Regions from separate parts of the Homo sapiens genome. Here all the other regions are linked to region 2. The links are contacts of gene promoters, found by promoter capture Hi-C in blood cells and fetal thymus (Javierre and others, 2016). All regions are on one chromosome and are shown on one strand. The core of a region is centred on a gene start or on the middle of the fragment in contact, and the rest is flanking DNA. Distances in the headings are between cores, read along the strand shown.

Region 1 (2,736 bases), core at 217-2,716, 310 kb before region 2:
AGCTTAATCTTTTCTGTGAGTTGGGAGCAGATCCCCATTGGAGCCTACTTGAGCTCCAGGAATTCTTGTTCTAGCTGACTGTGCAGATGAGGAAATGACGAATGATTCTATCCAGAGAATCATTCCTATAGGCAGGGGTAGTGCTGAACGGCTGCGCTGATTTTTCAGTGCCAGGATGTACTGGCCCCTTTTCTGTGAAGACAGCAGTTAAGAGGCTGGGTTGACGGGGGGGCCCTCAGACCCAGTTCTACCGGATTCTACCACTGACTAGCTGTGTGACCTTGGACAAGTGACTTTGCCTCTCTGAGCCTCCTCAGTTTATTTGTCTCTAACATGGGAATTCAACTGGTTCCTGCCACAGCTGGCCCCCGGGAGGACTTGTGGGTAATGCTGGTGAATTCTGAGAGCAGGATCTGGCTTGTGTTAAGGCCTGGAGGAACGGCCTCCATATGGGCCCCCCGAGCCAGGAACAGCCCTTCCCACCAGTTTCATTCCCTTATGGCACTTACCCCCAACACATGGGGCCTGGAGGTGTGACTGCTGATGTGTGTGTCCCATGGAGTGCTGGGAGCTGATTCTCCAATTTCCTTAGGGCCCTTGGTTTACTGTATCACATTTGACCGCTGCTCAGAGGGACATGTATGAAACTGAACCCCTTTCCTTTCACAGATAAGAAACCTGAGGCTCCCAGAAGGATGATGACGGCGGCCACTGAGGTCCCACACTCAGTGGGTAGTAGAACCATGGTCTCCCCTCTCCTCGCCAGCCACCTTACTCTAGCCCTGGTGCTGGGAAAGAATTTTCGAAGCAACACACACCGGGAATGGAGGGAAGAGGAGTGACCTCCAGCTGCCTCCTTGGGCAGTGAACTTGAATGAGTGGGGTTGAGGAGGAAAAGGAGATCACAGACACCCCGGGGACTCCCGCCAGAAGTGGGCGAGGCTGTGCAGGTGGCTGGAGGACCGGGGTGAGCGAGCAGAGGGGGAGGCTGGGAGAGTAAAATTCACGTTATTACGGGCAGGGTGACTCATCTGTGCCAACAGGCTGGTGAGACATAGAGAAACCCCAGGCACAGGAAGATGAAATGGGATAACGTGTTTGAAGGTTCTTTGAAAACAGTAAATCAACCTAACAGCAGGGGCGCCAAGAGAGCTGGATTCAAAGCCTGCTTCTGGAACGCACCTAGGACCTTGGGCAGCGGCTTAGCCTCTTGGAACTTCAGTTGCTCATCTGAAAGGTGGGGGTGGGGGTGGTAGCAGCCTCAGCAGGAGCGATGTGGATACAGTGGGTGGCACAGTCCTGGCATATGCAATGTCTATCAGCCACAACGATGGAGAGGAAGAAACTGGGCCCTCCAAGACGCCCTTCCTCACTGTGTCTTCCTGTCCAATTCTTACCCATCCTTCAGCCTCACCTGATTCCCTTAGGCAGGAAAGCCCTCTGTCTTCTCTGCACTTTCATGACAGCCTTTCCATAGCTCTTATCAGACAAGGCCTGGCATTCATTGCTCTTTCAGGAGGGATGTCATCCAGTGGCCTGGGGGTCTGCAGGGCGGGGCCTGGGCCTTATTCATCTCTGTGCCTTGACTTTCTCCCGAGAGTCATCAGTGAACACTTGTTGAATGGCCAGAAGAGGCAGAAACAGCAGCAGGTGGTAGCTTTCTGGGCCTTGCTATCAGAAAAGAATATGTTATTTGAGCTAATGAAGTAAAGAGGAGAAATGAATTTGTAAATGCATTTTTTAAAGCTCTATCAAGTTCTTTTTTTTTTCTTGAGATGGAGTCTCGCTCTGTCACCCAGGCTGAAGTGCAGTGGCATGATCTTGGCTCACGGCAACCTCTACCTCCCACGTTCATGCGCTTCTCCTGCCTCAGCCTTCCTAGTAGCTGGGATTACAGGTGCACGCCATCATGCCTGGCTGAATTTTGTATTTTTAGTAGAGACGGGGTTTTGCCATGTTGGCCAGGCTGGTCTTGAACTCCTGACCTGAGGTGATCTGCTCACCTCAGCCTCCCAAAGTGTGGGGATTACAGGCGTGAGCCACCAAGCCTGGCCTGACCAAGTTCTTTTGATGAGTACTATTTAATTCACTTTTTTTTTTAAATGAATGGAGTCTCCTGTTTGCTTTTGTCTTTGGGCTCTGCTGCAGATTAATGAATAAGAATGTCCCATATAGCCCACAGGATGATAAATCCACCTGGAATGTTTGTGAAAGAGCTGGGCAGGGAAAGTTGGTCCAATTGTAGAAAGCTGTATCACCAGCCATCAGCCAAGACAAAATAGATGAAGAGAAAAAGCATCCACTCTCAAGGATTAGAAAAATCGAGAGCTTGCACTTGCGGGCATTTGTGTGACATGATCTTCCTAAGCCACGGGTCGCTCATCTGTAAAATGGGGAAAGCAGGGCTACCCCTGCAAGGACACTGAGAGGTTTGAGGATGATGTGCGTAGTACCTGGCTGGGAGCGGGTGCTCAATAATGCCAGCTACTCTTGCCATCACCACTCAGCGTGACGTGAGCTTCTTTTCTGGGCTAATTACGTGAAGTTTAACATGAGCTTCTATAATAAAATGACCTGTATCTATTTCTTTTTTTTCTTTTTTCTTTTCTTTTCTTTTTTTTTTTTTGAGATGGAGTCTCACACTGTCGTCCAGGCTGGAGTGCAGTGGCGCCATCTCGGCTCACTGCAACCTCCGCCTCCCAGGTTCACGCCATTCTCCTGCCTCAGCCTCCCAAG
Region 2 (2,700 bases), core at 62-2,561:
TCCCACTATCCAGTCCAGCACCATGTGGAAACATCCCACAGCAATAATCCCATGGAGATTTGGGATTTGGAGGCTTGCAACACTGTGCCCAAACAGCAGACAAGGCTCTGGTCACAGTCACCCCCAAGTCCCCTGCTTCTTTGTTTTTTCTTTTACTTTTTTTTTTTTTTTTTTTTTTTTGAGACGGAGTCTCACTCTGTCGCCCAGACTGGAGTGCAGTGGCACAGTCTCAGCTCACTTCAACCTCCGCCTCCTGGGTTCAAGCCATTCTCTTGCCTCAGCCTCCTGAGTACCTGGGACTACAGGTGTAGGCCACCACGCCCGGCTAACTTTTGTATTTTTAGTAGGGACGGAGTTTCATCATGATGGCTAGGGTGATCTCGAACTCCTGACCTCAGGTGATCAACCCGCCTTGGCTTCCCAAAGTGCTGAGATTACAGGCGTGAGCCACCACGCCCAGCCTGCTTCTTTGTTTTCTAAGCTGTCCCACCTTCTAGAACATGACAGAGTCTCCAGTGAGAAGGGACATGCAATAAAAATCAATGTAGTCTAGGGCCTCGAGAGGGCTTTGAGGTCCAAGGTTTGCCCTAAGTGATGGGACACTTTGTGTTTTGTACACCAAGAGCGCTGTCTCCAGCTATCTGGAGAGTCTGAGGCTCTGGGAGTGAGAAAGGGTTTCTAAAGCACTGGCTGCTTCTTTGACATCTCTCCCCACCCCCCAGGCAACAGAGCCAAGACACACACACCCCAACTTTCTCTGTCCTGTTCTATTACTGTTTGCTGTTGCTTTGGAGCCTCATAAATAGGGCATTGAAAGCACTTCCTGCAGCTGAAAGAAGCCCTGAGTAGCTCGTCTCATTCCCAGCGTGCAGCTCAGCAAGGGGTCCGTCCTTCTCTGTCACTGTCTCTTTTGCCTGTTGTAATTCTGTCTGCCTCTCTGGGACTCTGCCTGTCTCACTCTTTCTGTCTGTGCCTCTCCTCACTCTTGTTCTTTCTGCCTGAATCACAGCCCTCAGTTTTTCTGTCCTCATGCATTTGTCTTTGTGGCTCTTTCCGTCTTTCTGCCCTTGACACCATCCCCTCTCCCAGTGCTTCCCCTCTGCTTCCAGATCGCTTCATGACTTAGGCAGGGAAACAGAGGTCAGGGCCTCCTTCCAGGCTTCCCTCTGCATCTTACTGAGTATGCAGGTCGGAAGAGCCTCGGGTCCTGCCTCCGCGGGTGGCCTAGAGCCAAAGGAAGGCGGAGCCCGTCGGGGCGGGATTGGCCCTTAGGGCCACCTCATAAAGCCTGGGGCGAGGGGCACAACGGCCTTGGGAAGGAGCCCTGCTGGGGCCGTCCAGTCCCCCAGACCTCACAGGCTCAGTCGCGGATCTGCAGTGTCATGCCTGGGAGCCCTCGGCCCGCGCCAAGCTGGGTGCTGTTGCTGCGGCTGCTGGCGTTGCTGCGGCCCCCGGGGCTGGGTGAGGCATGCAGCTGCGCCCCGGCGCACCCTCAGCAGCACATCTGCCACTCGGCACTTGGTGAGTCCGAGGTCCGCGAGGTCCACAGCAGGGGGTGGTTGTGGGGGATTAGTATCTGGCCAGCAGTACACCAGGAGTCCAGAGGAAAAGGGAGGAGCTCAAATTCTTACCGGTTGTCTCTTGCTGAGGCTGATGGGTGGAGAAGGACCAGGCGCCATAGCAACCTTGCAAGCCCAGAACCTGACTGATTCATAAGGAAATGAAGATTTCATCAGGGACTTCCATAGCGACCTCCCTCACTCCGGCCATACTGCAATTATGGAGTGTCATTACACAAGGTGTCACCGGAGCTATCTGATGATTATTCTGAACTACTAGACTGGGGACAGAAAGGGGAGGGGAGAGGGCTTGCATTGTAACTACCCGTGTCTGTCCAGGCCTATAACTGAGGTTGCCACCAAGCCCCTATGGCAACACACACGTTCTGTCCTTTCTCTTCCCTCTGCCTGGAATGCCCTCCCTCACACCCTTAAATTCCTGGCAGACTCCTACTCATCCTTCAAGGGCTAACTTAGGTCTCTCCCCTTCTCTGCAGGCTCCCGGGCTCCTTGGTGCCGCCTCAGCATCTCTAACCGTCTTAGCGCTCCTACTATGCTGTGCTGTTGTTCTTTACACGTGTGCACTCCACTAGATCAAGAGCTCGGCAGGATGGGGACCCTGTCTTAATCACATCTATGGGCCTAGTGCCTAGTGCAAGGCCAGGCACAGAGGAAGAACATCATCAACAGTTTTTGGTTATTAATGCTCAAATGGCAAGAGATGCAATACCTCAGTGCAGGGTCAGAACATTTATGAATTCAATAAACATTTACTAATATCAACTGTAGGCGGGATGAGAGGCCTTGACCACAGCAATAGATAAACTTCACACCGACTGCCCTGAAGGGGCTCCTCCTCCCTTCTCTACTCTGACTCCTACCCTGTGCCCCACTGCACAAACGGCTATGGAGAACTAGAGCTCTCCAGACTAACTGGTTCAAAAGGCAGAAACAGCTTAGCGGTTATAGGACCTAATAAGCCTGAGGGGTTTGGAACTTCCAGTGACTGCAGGGGAGGTGTTTCCAGGTCCCCCTTCTCACACATCACGTTGCTCACAACCCAGCCACACCAAAACCAAGAACTGCCCTATAGACTTCTTCATGGACCCTGGATCATCCAGACCTCAGGTGTATTGCCCCC
Region 3 (2,708 bases), core at 193-2,692, 260 kb before region 2:
GAGTGAGACTTCGCCTCAAAAACAAAAAAACAAAAAACAAACAACAACAACAACAAAAACCCACAATATCAAGTAGTTATTTTAAAGTGAATCACGACTTGACCCTGGACTTCACAGCTCCAAAGGTAAACTATGCCATACTGTGATCTATTTGCACCCTAGGCATTTAAAGGCCGGTATTCCGCATGATGTGATGGTAGAGAGTGTAGAGTCTGAGCCAGCATGCCTGGCTCACAATCCTGTCTCCATCTTTTGCTAGCCACGTAACCTTGCGCAAATGAGAAAACCTCTCAGTGCTTTGGTTTCCTCATTTGTAAAATGGTCCTTACTTCCCTGAATTGTTGTGAGGATTGAATAAATATGCATGAAGTGCTTAGAACACTGCCTGGCACACAGCAAGTATTAAATAAATGTTTGCTATTCTTATGACTACTGCACTATGCACCTGATTTCAGAAACATTCTCCTTTCAACTGGACAACAAAAGATGACAAAGGGATCGTGCTCTTTATAATACATTGTGCAGTTATATACAGTTTACCACTATCCCCCGACGGGTTTTTCACAGAGGATACACTGTAGAGTACATACAAAAAGCTCACCTAAAGTCCACTTCAATAGGAAAACTTGCCACTTAAAAACAATTTTTATACAGAGAGATGAAAGTAAAACTTTCTTCTACTCATGAGAGGCTAATGAAAGTAATGTTTAGATTGTGCGTGGTGGCTTATGCCTATAATCCCAGCGCTTTGGGAGACCAAGGTGAGAAGATTGCTTGAGGTCAGGAATCTGAGATCAGCCTGGGCAACATAATGAGACCTCATCTCTACAAAAAAATTTTTAAAATTAGCAGGGCATGTTGGTGTGCAGCTGTTGTCCTGTCTACTTGGGAGGCTGAGGTGGGAGAATCACTTGAGCCCAACTGTAAAATGGCCACGTATTACTTTTATGAAGTAGCATGATCATAGCTTACTAACTGCAGTTAGAAGCTGCAGTGAGCTATGACTGTGCAACTGCACTTCAGTCTGGGTGACAGAGTGAGGCCCTGTCTCACAAAAAAAAAAAAAAAAAAAAAAAGGAAAAAAAAAAAAGAAAAAAAAAAGAAAAAAGTCACACTCAGAAGAAAATCTGGCTTTTGGAATTGGTTAGTCAGATCATGTACTACTTGCAGGGCCAAAAATACAACAAATTGCTAAATAACTAAATTTATTTCTATGTTGTGTGTTCGGTTCACATTGCATTCTTAATCACAACCAACTACCTCACAAAGGTACTTTAAGGGAAGCCATCAGAGGAATCCACACAAGAGAGTGGGTGGAGGTCAGTAGGTATTCCTTAATTCCTGATATCACAAAAGCAATTCAAAGTAGTATCTTACTGATGGTGGGGCAGGAGCATGATTTGACCAGAAATACTTAGTGGTCCCTTCTCTACATCAAGTGAGCATTGTCTTAAGCAAAGTTATACATGCCATTACTTACAGGAACCAAAGATTAGACTGGCCTCTAATCTTCCTTTCTGGAAGGAAAAGAAAGAGACAAAGAAAAGAAAAGAAAAAGAAAAAGGAGAAGAGGGCATTTGACTGGAAAAAATATATTGTTGAGGGATGAAAGAGAAGATCCTGGGTTACTTATAACCTTCACACCGCAAACCTATGACACTCTTTCTTGGTACAGTGTTTTGCACGTGTAGTGATGATTCATGGCATCATGCCACTGGCACTTAAAGTGACAATGCAGACTAACACTAAGGAAATCCAAAATTCTTTTGGCCACCCCACCATCATCCCACCCTCTTTCATAGAAGATCAAAAGACAAATCTTACCTCCACTGAGAATAATGACAGCAATAAATATTGCCAAGTCGCTGTCATCTAATTCCAGTGCATTGAACTTCACAGCAAACTCAAACTTGGGCTCCATAAAGTCACCAAAAGGCTTTCGCAGGCTCTTTAGAAACTCCCTTGTCATGAAGCCTTGGCCCTCGGATATGAGAACCCCATCTTTATTCATCAAGGAGGCCAGCATTGTGTAAATGATCTCGTGGACTCCATATTTGAGGAGAGTTACTTGGTCGTTCAAGTCAAGATTTACAAAACCAGGAATGCTTTTGGCATACTCTGTGATCTCCTGCACAGCCTCCACGGAGCGAAACTGGCAGCCCTGAAAGATGCGGATGGCCACCTCTTTGCTCTGCTCCTGCAGGGGGGTGATGTGTTTGAACTTGATTTTATCTTCTCCCATCATTAAGGAATTCATGTCATAGATAACGAATGGCTGCAAATAAAACAGGGAAAACGTGGATGACTTGGAGATTTCTAACTCACAGTGAATGCCATCCCAGGTTCAGAAAACTGTTTATGTAAACTTGCTTTGCTAACTAAAATCTTTAAAGCTGAAGATGCTTAATAATGAGAAAATACTCTCAAGTTCTTTTATTCATCTTAATTATCTTCTGGGACCAAACATATTTCACCAATTTTGGTCTTCTTTCCCTTCAATTTACACTGTAACACTTTACCTATGACTGGCTAAGAATCCTGATTTCTTTTGTTTGGGGAGTCTTCATTGTTGATTTTTATATTATTTGTTTGTTTGTTTTTGAGACAGAGTCTCACTCTGCGCCCAGACTGAATTACAGTGGCACAATCAGGGCTCACTGCAACCTCCACCTCCCAGGTTCAAGCAATTCTTGTGCCTCAGCCTCCTG
Region 4 (2,700 bases), core at 81-2,580, 330 kb before region 2:
AATTGTATACTTACAATGGGAGGACTTTATAGTTGTAAATTATAACTCAATAAAGCTGTTTTTTAAAAATGCCCACAGCAATGAACAGATTATGGAAAATTTTTTTTAAAGAACTACCAGTCTTCATTCAACTTGATCAATGCTGGAAAACAGTAAAAACTAGAACTTGTCCTCATCTGAGAAGAGGTCCCCAACCAGGAGGCAGCAGATAAGGAGCTCCATGCCAAAGCCCCATCTGATCCGTGCCTGAGTAGGGACACTATGCCACGCTGTGGCTACCTCTGGGAACGGGATGGGAGTGAGTGGGGAATTTTCACTTTTTTACCCATTACATTTCTGTAAATTACTTTTTTTGTTCCTTTAACAAACATGCATTGCTTTTACAACTAAAGACAAAAAAAATAGTCAATCCATTGAACCTACTTCATCACTGAAATAAAGGTTTGTGGGCAGGGGTGCTCCATCTGTCATTCTATTACCCTAACATATGGCTTTTGGGCACTAATTCAAATTGTACTTTTCCTACAACTGGACCAAACCGCAAGGAAAGAATACACATTGTTCATGGTTGGTGTGGGGGTATGGCTGGGATGGGGAGAAGGAAAGGACTGCTTGCTCAGGGTTGTCTGAAAGTAATCTTACCAAGGCTGCCTGCACTTACTTTCCCATAGAGCTGCTCAATGTCCTCCGCATTCCTCACAATCACATTGTTGTTAATCATTTCAGCACGGAATATCTTGAATTCTTTCAGAGGACCATGGTCCTGACCAAAAGGGATTGGCAATGGAGACTCGTAAGTCTCATACACTCTTCTTTTCCTCTTTGGGGCATGGAAAACTGCTTCTGCCATTTTTCAGAGGAGGTATTCTTTAAAGAGTAGACAACAAACAGAAAGAAACAGACAATCAATAACTACCTTGATCCAAAATGTGAGTACATCTGTACCTAGGCTCAGAAAACTTAGTGGTCTGTGGGAAGAAATAGAGTATTTATAAAGCAATAAACTAAAAGCAGTAAGAACAGTTTGTGTGAGCAATGTAAATCATATTGACCTAGAATACTGCAATTAATCCCCACAATAAACCCCAGGAAATGAGTGGTAATCTTTCTACTCCAGCTGACAACGCTGAGACCTAGTGACATGCCCAAAGCTGCAATGTTAGGTCTCCTGAGAGCAAGCACAACAGGATTTCTGTCTACCAGGAGTGCTTCCATTTCACTCACCCAACAGACATTTACTACCAGGAATTCCTAATAATCATAGGTGCTGGGGAGACAAAGACAAAACTGAGACCCTGTCCTCAACAAATTAAATCTTGCAGGCACTTCATTTTCCAAGAGGATCTTACAATACACACTAAACATTGGGTCAATCAGCTCCCAATTTTTAAAGTACATTAATAAATAATAATGACAGCAGCAGTTATTTAAGGGTCGATTATATACTACCAAATGCTACTGGCTTCAAGCAGGGACTCTAAAGCCAGACTATCAGCATCAGAATCAACTTTACCACTTCCTAGCAGTGTGATTTTGGGCAAAAGTCACTGACTCTCTCTGTGATTTAGTTTCCTCACCTGCAAAATCAAGATAAGAACGACTCTATCTTACAGTTAAGATCCATAAAGTGCTTAGAACAGTACCTGGCACATAGCGTGTACCATTCATGTATCAGCTATAATTAGTATTACAGGGTGAGCAGTAGCAACACCATTTTACAAATAGGAAACAGATTCAGGTTAGAGAGATTTGTAGACGACCCCGAGTGTGGTGGCATCGGGTGACCCAGGTCTGTTGAACTCCCAAGCCCATGCCCTCTCTCTAGATTCTGCTGAAAGCACAGGCAGGGTCTATCTACTTTTGTCTGATGACTCTTTCTCAAAATCAGACGGTGAAGGGTTATTGAGCAGTAACGGAATTACCCACTGTGCACCCAGCACCATGAGGGAGAACAGAAAGCCAAAGCCAGTACGTGTCCCTCTGGGGCCATACATTGGATCCAAGGAGACAAAACAAGTATATAACATAGCTGGAAGCACAGAAAGCAGGTTGGAGCTAACGGAACTGGCTGTTATCCACTAATGTCTAAAGGAGGGAAGTAAATGTGAACATATTGTGTGATGCAGACACAGAGATACAGTAGATGCACTTAACCTAGGAAAACGTAACCATATACATGGGAAAACAATGTAAATGGTGCAAGACATTCCACTCGAGGAGCAGCTGTCCTGGAATGAGATGGGAAACTTGAATCTGCTGCTCCCCCAGTACTAGGTCTAGACTTGATTTCAACTGAGAGCTTACCTGGTGCTTGAAGATACAGTGCGGCCAAATCATACACACGTTTAACCTACATGACTCCGAATCCTCACAAGGGAAAAAATAAGACTAATTACTTAGGTGGCTCCTGCACTCAGTACTTGCATCCCATTGGCAAGGGATGCCATCAAGCCTGAAACAGTCAAGAAGGTGGCCAAAACTGAGGGAGGGGAAGGTGAGTGGCTTTAAGAGTGTCATGACCATTAAGAAAAGGCTTATCCAACGTGTGATGATATCAGTATCCAACTTCTCAAGGAAGAAGCTGAGGAATTATATGAGGACACAGAAAAACACAGACTAAAGAGGAGTTAGAGGAAATGATACATCAATTACAAAGATAACCATGAAAAAGAAGAATCGGGAAGTTGGAACCTTCCTAGA
Region 5 (2,740 bases), core at 60-2,559, 350 kb before region 2:
AATTTTCAGAAGTTTAGATAGAAGGAAAGTCACTGACCTATTGCAGGGGAGGGAGACTAGTCAAACAACGTAGCAGTAAAAAAATAACCACAAAATTCTAGGGAAGAATCTTAGACATTCTAATCACCAGATTCTGATACTTGGAATCCATATTATGGACACTAAGCACGGGAAAAGAAATGTGGGAAAAACGGGTGAGGTACAAAATGGAAGAGCCGGGCACAAGACGATGCGTAAACGAGATCTGACTGAGACTGCTGCTGTCAGGCACGAGGAGAGCTGTCGCCCGACCCTGGTGTGTCCCTTTGTTTCCAAGCATTCCCACCTGGTCCTCCTGTGTGGGGACTATTGTCTTTATTTTCTAAATAAGAGAAATTTTCTCACGCACTTTAAAAGCTTTATAAGTATATACGAACAATACACAGAAGTACCAGTAAGGCAGCCTCTAAAACTGGAGTTAGACTAAGAAATCGACATGTATCAACAAACTCAGAGCCACAGCTGAATGATATCAACACAGTTAAAGAATGTGACACAGAGTGAGTGAGGAAACTCAGCAAATGGGGAGTCTGGTGACGGTGGCAAGGTCTTCGCACTGCGCACAGGATGGGACTCCGACCCAAGGGTTCGGTGGCAGACCAATGCATGCACCACACTGCCTCCAGTCTAGATGTTAGCAGCTCTTTGATATACCTCAATTCAATGGTGGCTTTTCAAGAAAAAGAATGCATGCTACCACATTAAGTAAAATAATTAATTGAAAGTCATACAACAATCTTAGAATCTTCAGTATCAAGTAAAAAACAGTTTATACCTCCTTGGGGAGAAGGACACATGAGCCTGACATCCTTAAGCACTTGTATTATCCAGCTCACTCCTCACAGGCTAACTCTGTGCTCACCAAGCAGCCTTCCAATTATATTACCCTTCGGCATCTGAATTTTCTACATGAAGAGAACATGCCAATATGGAAAGGCAGGTGGTGGGGCCTTTGCTGATGTTAATAAACTCACATTCTAGTTTATTCCCCAGGCTCTTGTGAGCACACTCAGCATGAATGCTGCTCCTAGAGCTCAAGTCATTTTCTGTGCTCTAACAAATCCGAACTTCTTAGTCCCTCAAGCAAAGGATTAGACCTGGAATGCAGGGCCTTACTGGGGTGCTGCCATGGTGGGAATCTTGCTGGGAATGAGTGAGCTGGTCTGCACCACCCCTATTAAATCACCTCCCATCAGTTTCCCAACAGCACACACAGTAAAATTAAACACATCTACTTTGAACTTGGGAAATATAAACGTTAAAGCTCCTTAACCTTCAAAAGTTGACTGCCTGGCAGCGTGTGGTGGCTCATGACTATAATCTCAGCACTTTGGGAGGCCAAGACGGGCAGATCACTTGAGGCCAGGAGTTAGAGAGTAGCCTGACCAACATGGCGAAACTCCATCTCTACTAAAAATACAAAAATTAGCTGGGTGTGATGGTGCATGCCTGTAGTTCCAGCTACCAGGAGGCTGAGGTGGGAGGATCACTTGAACCCGGGAGGCAGACGTTGCAGTGTGCTGAGATCACGCCACTGCACTGCAGCCTAGGTGACAGAGCGAGACCCTGTCTCAAAAAAAAAAACAACAACAAAAAAAACCAAAAAAAACCCCCAAAGTTGACAGCCCTAACTTCATGACAGCATTATGCAACTGCTTTTACTTTACAGTGAAATCAACTTTCATTTAAAAAAAAATTTGCTCCCCCAAATCAATCTATTTCTCACTGGATCTTGCTAATTAAAAAGCATTTGATTAAAAAATTAGCCAGACATGGTGTAGCATGCACCTGTAATTCTAGGTACTCAGGAGGCTAAGGTGGTGGGATACCTTGAGCTCAGGAGTATGAGGCTTCAGTGAGCTATGATGGTGCCACTGCACTCCAGCCTGGGCAACAGAGAGAAACCCTGTCTCTAAAAAATATAAGAATAAAAAATTTGAAGAGCAAAGCATTTGAGTGTTTGCGTGTGTGCGTGTCCACTGAAGGATGCAGAAGACGGATGGAGACAGAACTCTTCAGAAATAACTACTCAGAAATAACTGAGGTAAATACAGTTTATAGCTCTTCAATTACTCTATGAAAATTTCCAAATCTCTGTTCTGAATGAGTCAAGGCAAAGGCATGAAAACACCCCTACAAGGCCGCATGTCCACATCTGTGGAAGGTTGCAGACTAAAAGCTTCCCATGTCAGCGCTGAGCAGACTTCTAAGTTAGCTGTGTATCACCACTCTGAGTCCCTTAAGAGAGCTGTTGTGAATCACCACAGCAGGGGTGAGACCCCATTCTGCCTGTGTTCCTGACTAACATTCACAGAAACACTCCGCGGGTACATGCAGTGCACCAAACATAGGTGATTCATTCAAAAGAAATCTGCCAAAACAGAAAGACAAGTAGAGCTAGGTTTAACGGTGTGCTCCCTGAAAACTTCTGGAACACATCTCTGAAATGTTCTCAGGTGCCAGGCAGCTTCTAAGAAGGCAGAGTAACCTCATCTCCTGTCTCCTATTACTCTTGCCTTTCATCAGGGGGTGTTCAAGAGGAGGCAGCAGGCAGCAGCAGCCTTTAAAAAATTTGTCAATAAAAGACAGCAGCTGGTCAACTGGAACAGTGCAGCTGAACTCCCAGCATCTGACACGGAATACCCTTCGCCTACAGCTGCCACCTCCCAGGCCAGGCCTCCAGCCCACCCTCCATACTGAT
Region 6 (2,700 bases), core at 134-2,633, 380 kb before region 2:
GGTAGAGCTAGAACTGGGTTTCTCTCAAGGAAATGATTGCTGATAACAGGGAAGGCTACAAAAATCCCTCCATGACTGTAGGCAAATCTAAATCTCATTAGGTGGATGGAAGATTCTAGAACCTCCACCCTGGATTTATGTTACGTAAAGTTACCACATGGCTACTGTCATTTTCTGATGTCTCTTTTTCACAGAGGTGTGTGTTTCCTTGGGGCTCCACATGACTTTGGTTTTGATTTGCAGGGGTTGTGTATAATTACAGTGCACATGGTGTCCAGCGAGACGGAGAAGGGTGGGAAGAGAGCATAAGCATCCCATTACTGCAGCCCAACATGTATGGAATGATGGAGCAATGGGACAAGTACCTGGAAGACTTCTCCACCTCGGGGGCCTGGCTGCCTCACAGGTACACGACTGCAAATGCTGCCCCCTCGCTGACACTCACATGCTATGCAAGTGGGATCCCCGTGTAGCCTCAGCTCACAGAGGACTCAGCAGCACTTAGCTTCATGTTGAGCCGATACAGACATATTAGCATCTCTAACAGAATTTAAACAGAGGTTGAACTACCCTAGGTTTTCTGCAGAGGTGGGTCAGCATACACATACAACAAAATCACAGCGTTGTAAGAGCTGAAAGGTCTAGAACCTGTATTCAGTTATTTTAGTTATGTGACAAGGTATTTTTACACATAAATAGCAAGTCACGATATTATATTTCCTTAAAAATTAAAAAAAACAATATTCAGGCTGGGCACAATGGCTCTCGCCTGTAATCCCAGCACTTTGGGAGACTGAGGCAGGTAGATCACCTGAGGTCAGAAGTTCGAGACCAGCCTGGACAACATGGTAAAACCCCGTCTCTATTAAAAATACAAAAATAGCCAGGCGTGGTGGTGGACGTCTGTAGTCCCTACTTGGGAGGCTTGGGCAGGAGAATCACTTGAACCAAGAGGCGGAGGTTGCAGTGAGCTGAAATCACACGATTGCACTCCAGCCTGGGCAAGAGAGTAAGACTTCGTCTCACCAAAAACAAAAAAACACAAAAACCAATGTTCAAAATGTAAAAGCTTCTTTTTTGTAATTTTAGCAATTTCCAGTTAATTTCTCACTCTCAACATTTTGTAAGACGTATAGCATGTTTGTGGATTTAAATTATTTGGAGGTTTCCCCCGAAATAAGTTTAGATACTATGGAATATCATAAAACTCATATGGAATTCCATCTCTAAACTCTAGAAGTTCAATAAGTTCCCCAAATTGGTAGTTAACTTGCAACTGAGTAACCACTCTGAACATCTGGGTGAGTCTATGCCAATCTGCAGCAAGCAGAAACGGCCCAAGAGACCAAGCATCCCCCAGAATTGCATTTTTTTTTTTTTTTTTTTTTGAGATGGAGTCTTACTCACTCTGTCACCCAGGCTGGAGTACAGTGGTGCGATCTTGGCTTACTGCAACCTCTGCCTCCCGCCGGTTCAAACAATTCTCCTGCCTCAGCCTCCCAAGTAGCTGGGACAACAGGCGTGCACCACCATGCCCAGCTAACTTGTATTTTTTGTAGGGACGGGGTTTCACCATGTTGGCCAGGCCAGTTTCGAACTCTTGACCTCAAGTGATCCTCCCACCCTCGCTTCCCAAAGTGCTGGGATTACAGGTGTGAGCCACCGCACCCGGCCTGAAGTGCACATCTTGAAGCTTCTTAACCACATAAGCCAGCACATGCAGGGGCCTTGCTTGCTGAGGCACCCGATTTCAGTTAGGAAAGGCCTTCAGTAGCTTGACAGCCTGTTCTGAGCAGCCTTTTCTTCTCAACACCCTTATTCTCCTCCATAAGGTATGAAGACAACCACCATAACTGCTACTCTTACGCACTCACGTTCATTAACTGCGTTCTGATGGCAGAAGGTAGACAGCAACTGGACAAGGGTGAATTTACGGAGAAGTACGTGGTCCCGCGGACAAGGCTGGCATCCAAGTTCATCACACTCTACCGGGCGATACGGGAGCATGGCTTCTACGTCACTGACTGTCCCCAGCAGCAGGCACAACCCCCTGAGGGCGGCGGTTTGTGCTGAGAGCTATGTAAGCGCAGCCTGGACGCTGGAGGGTAGGGTGGTTGCTACCTTTAATCAGTACTATGGATTTCTAAATGCATTTAACTGTGGTTAATAAAAGCGTGTATGGGCCGGGCATGGTGGCTCACACCTGTAATCCCAGCACTTTGGGAAGCTAAGACAGGTAGGTCACCTGAGGTTGGGAGTTTGAGACCAGCCTGACCAACATGGAGAAACCCCGTCCTTACTAAAAATATAAAATTAGCTGGGCATGGTGGCGCATGCCTGTAATCCCAACTACTAGGGAGGCTGAAGCAGGAGAATCGCTTGAACCCGGGAGGCGGAGGTTGGGATGAGTTGAGATCGTGCCATTGCACTCCAGCCTGGGCAACAAGAGTGAAACTCCATCTCAAAAAAATAAAAAATAAAAAATAAAAACGTGTATGGCTTTCCTTCAAGCATATGTCAGCTTACTACATCATAAGACTTCATAAAATAAAAATTGCCCTAGGTTTTAAAAATTATATGCATTCCAACAAAATTATTTTCATATCAATGAGGTTTTTAAACTAAGAATCCATTTACAGCATAAAGTGGTAGCACATTTTATTCACAGAGCAATGAAAATTATTCCTATAAATTAATGTG

What was found. The method cuts DNA at HindIII sites, captures the fragments that hold promoters and counts their contacts. A CHiCAGO score of 5 or more calls a contact.
Region 1: a fragment that was not itself captured here is called in contact with the fragment with the promoter of TIMP4 in region 2 in 15 of 17 cell types (M0 macrophages, M1 macrophages, megakaryocytes and 12 more); the score reaches 11.6 in M0 macrophages.
Region 3: a contact is called between a fragment that was not itself captured here and the fragment with the promoter of TIMP4 in region 2, in 1 of 17 cell types (monocytes). The highest score is 5.2, in monocytes.
Region 4: a contact is called between a fragment that was not itself captured here and the fragment with the promoter of TIMP4 in region 2, in 5 of 17 cell types (M1 macrophages, endothelial precursors, monocytes and 2 more). The highest score is 7.9, in M1 macrophages.
Region 5: a contact is called between a fragment that was not itself captured here and the fragment with the promoter of TIMP4 in region 2, in 1 of 17 cell types (endothelial precursors). The highest score is 6.2, in endothelial precursors.
Region 6: a fragment that was not itself captured here is called in contact with the fragment with the promoter of TIMP4 in region 2 in 1 of 17 cell types (endothelial precursors); the score reaches 5.5 in endothelial precursors.

Annotation. Positions count from the first base shown.
Region 1 is chr3:12,469,756-12,472,491 of GRCh38, reverse strand. No RefSeq gene overlaps it. Among named protein-coding and RNA genes, the nearest start is that of TSEN2, 13 kb to the left of the region's middle. The HindIII fragment of the contact is 5,789 bases long and covers 1-2,736 here.
Region 2 is chr3:12,157,523-12,160,222 of GRCh38, reverse strand. It overlaps TIMP4 (TIMP metallopeptidase inhibitor 4), which reads left to right and starts at 1,311. Exons shown (of 5, transcript NM_003256.4): 1 at 1,311-1,521. The coding sequence starts at 1,383. The region is part of intron 5 of SYN2 (synapsin II); the gene reads right to left. The HindIII fragment of the contact is 8,121 bases long and covers 1-2,700 here.
Region 3 is chr3:12,416,271-12,418,978 of GRCh38, reverse strand. PPARG (peroxisome proliferator activated receptor gamma) reads right to left here. Exons shown (of 8, transcript NM_138711.6): 7 at 1,825-2,275. Among named protein-coding and RNA genes, the nearest start is that of TSEN2, 67 kb to the left of the region's middle. The HindIII fragment of the contact is 9,374 bases long and covers 1-2,708 here.
Region 4 is chr3:12,487,951-12,490,650 of GRCh38, reverse strand. TSEN2 (tRNA splicing endonuclease subunit 2) reads right to left here. Exons shown (of 12, transcript NM_025265.4): 2 at 662-867. The coding sequence starts at 850. Among named protein-coding and RNA genes, the nearest start is that of TSEN2, 4.8 kb to the right of the region's middle. The HindIII fragment of the contact is 5,707 bases long and covers 1-2,700 here.
Region 5 is chr3:12,508,091-12,510,830 of GRCh38, reverse strand. The region is part of intron 6 of TSEN2 (tRNA splicing endonuclease subunit 2); the gene reads right to left. Among named protein-coding and RNA genes, the nearest start is that of TSEN2, 25 kb to the right of the region's middle. The HindIII fragment of the contact is 1,822 bases long and covers 399-2,220 here.
Region 6 is chr3:12,539,566-12,542,265 of GRCh38, reverse strand. It overlaps MKRN2OS (MKRN2 opposite strand), which reads left to right. Exons shown (of 4, transcript NM_001195279.2): 3 at 244-406; 4 at 1,833-2,490. The coding sequence ends at 2,073. It also overlaps a transcript of TSEN2 not described here. Among named protein-coding and RNA genes, the nearest start is that of MKRN2OS, 4.6 kb to the left of the region's middle. The HindIII fragment of the contact is 624 bases long and covers 1,072-1,695 here.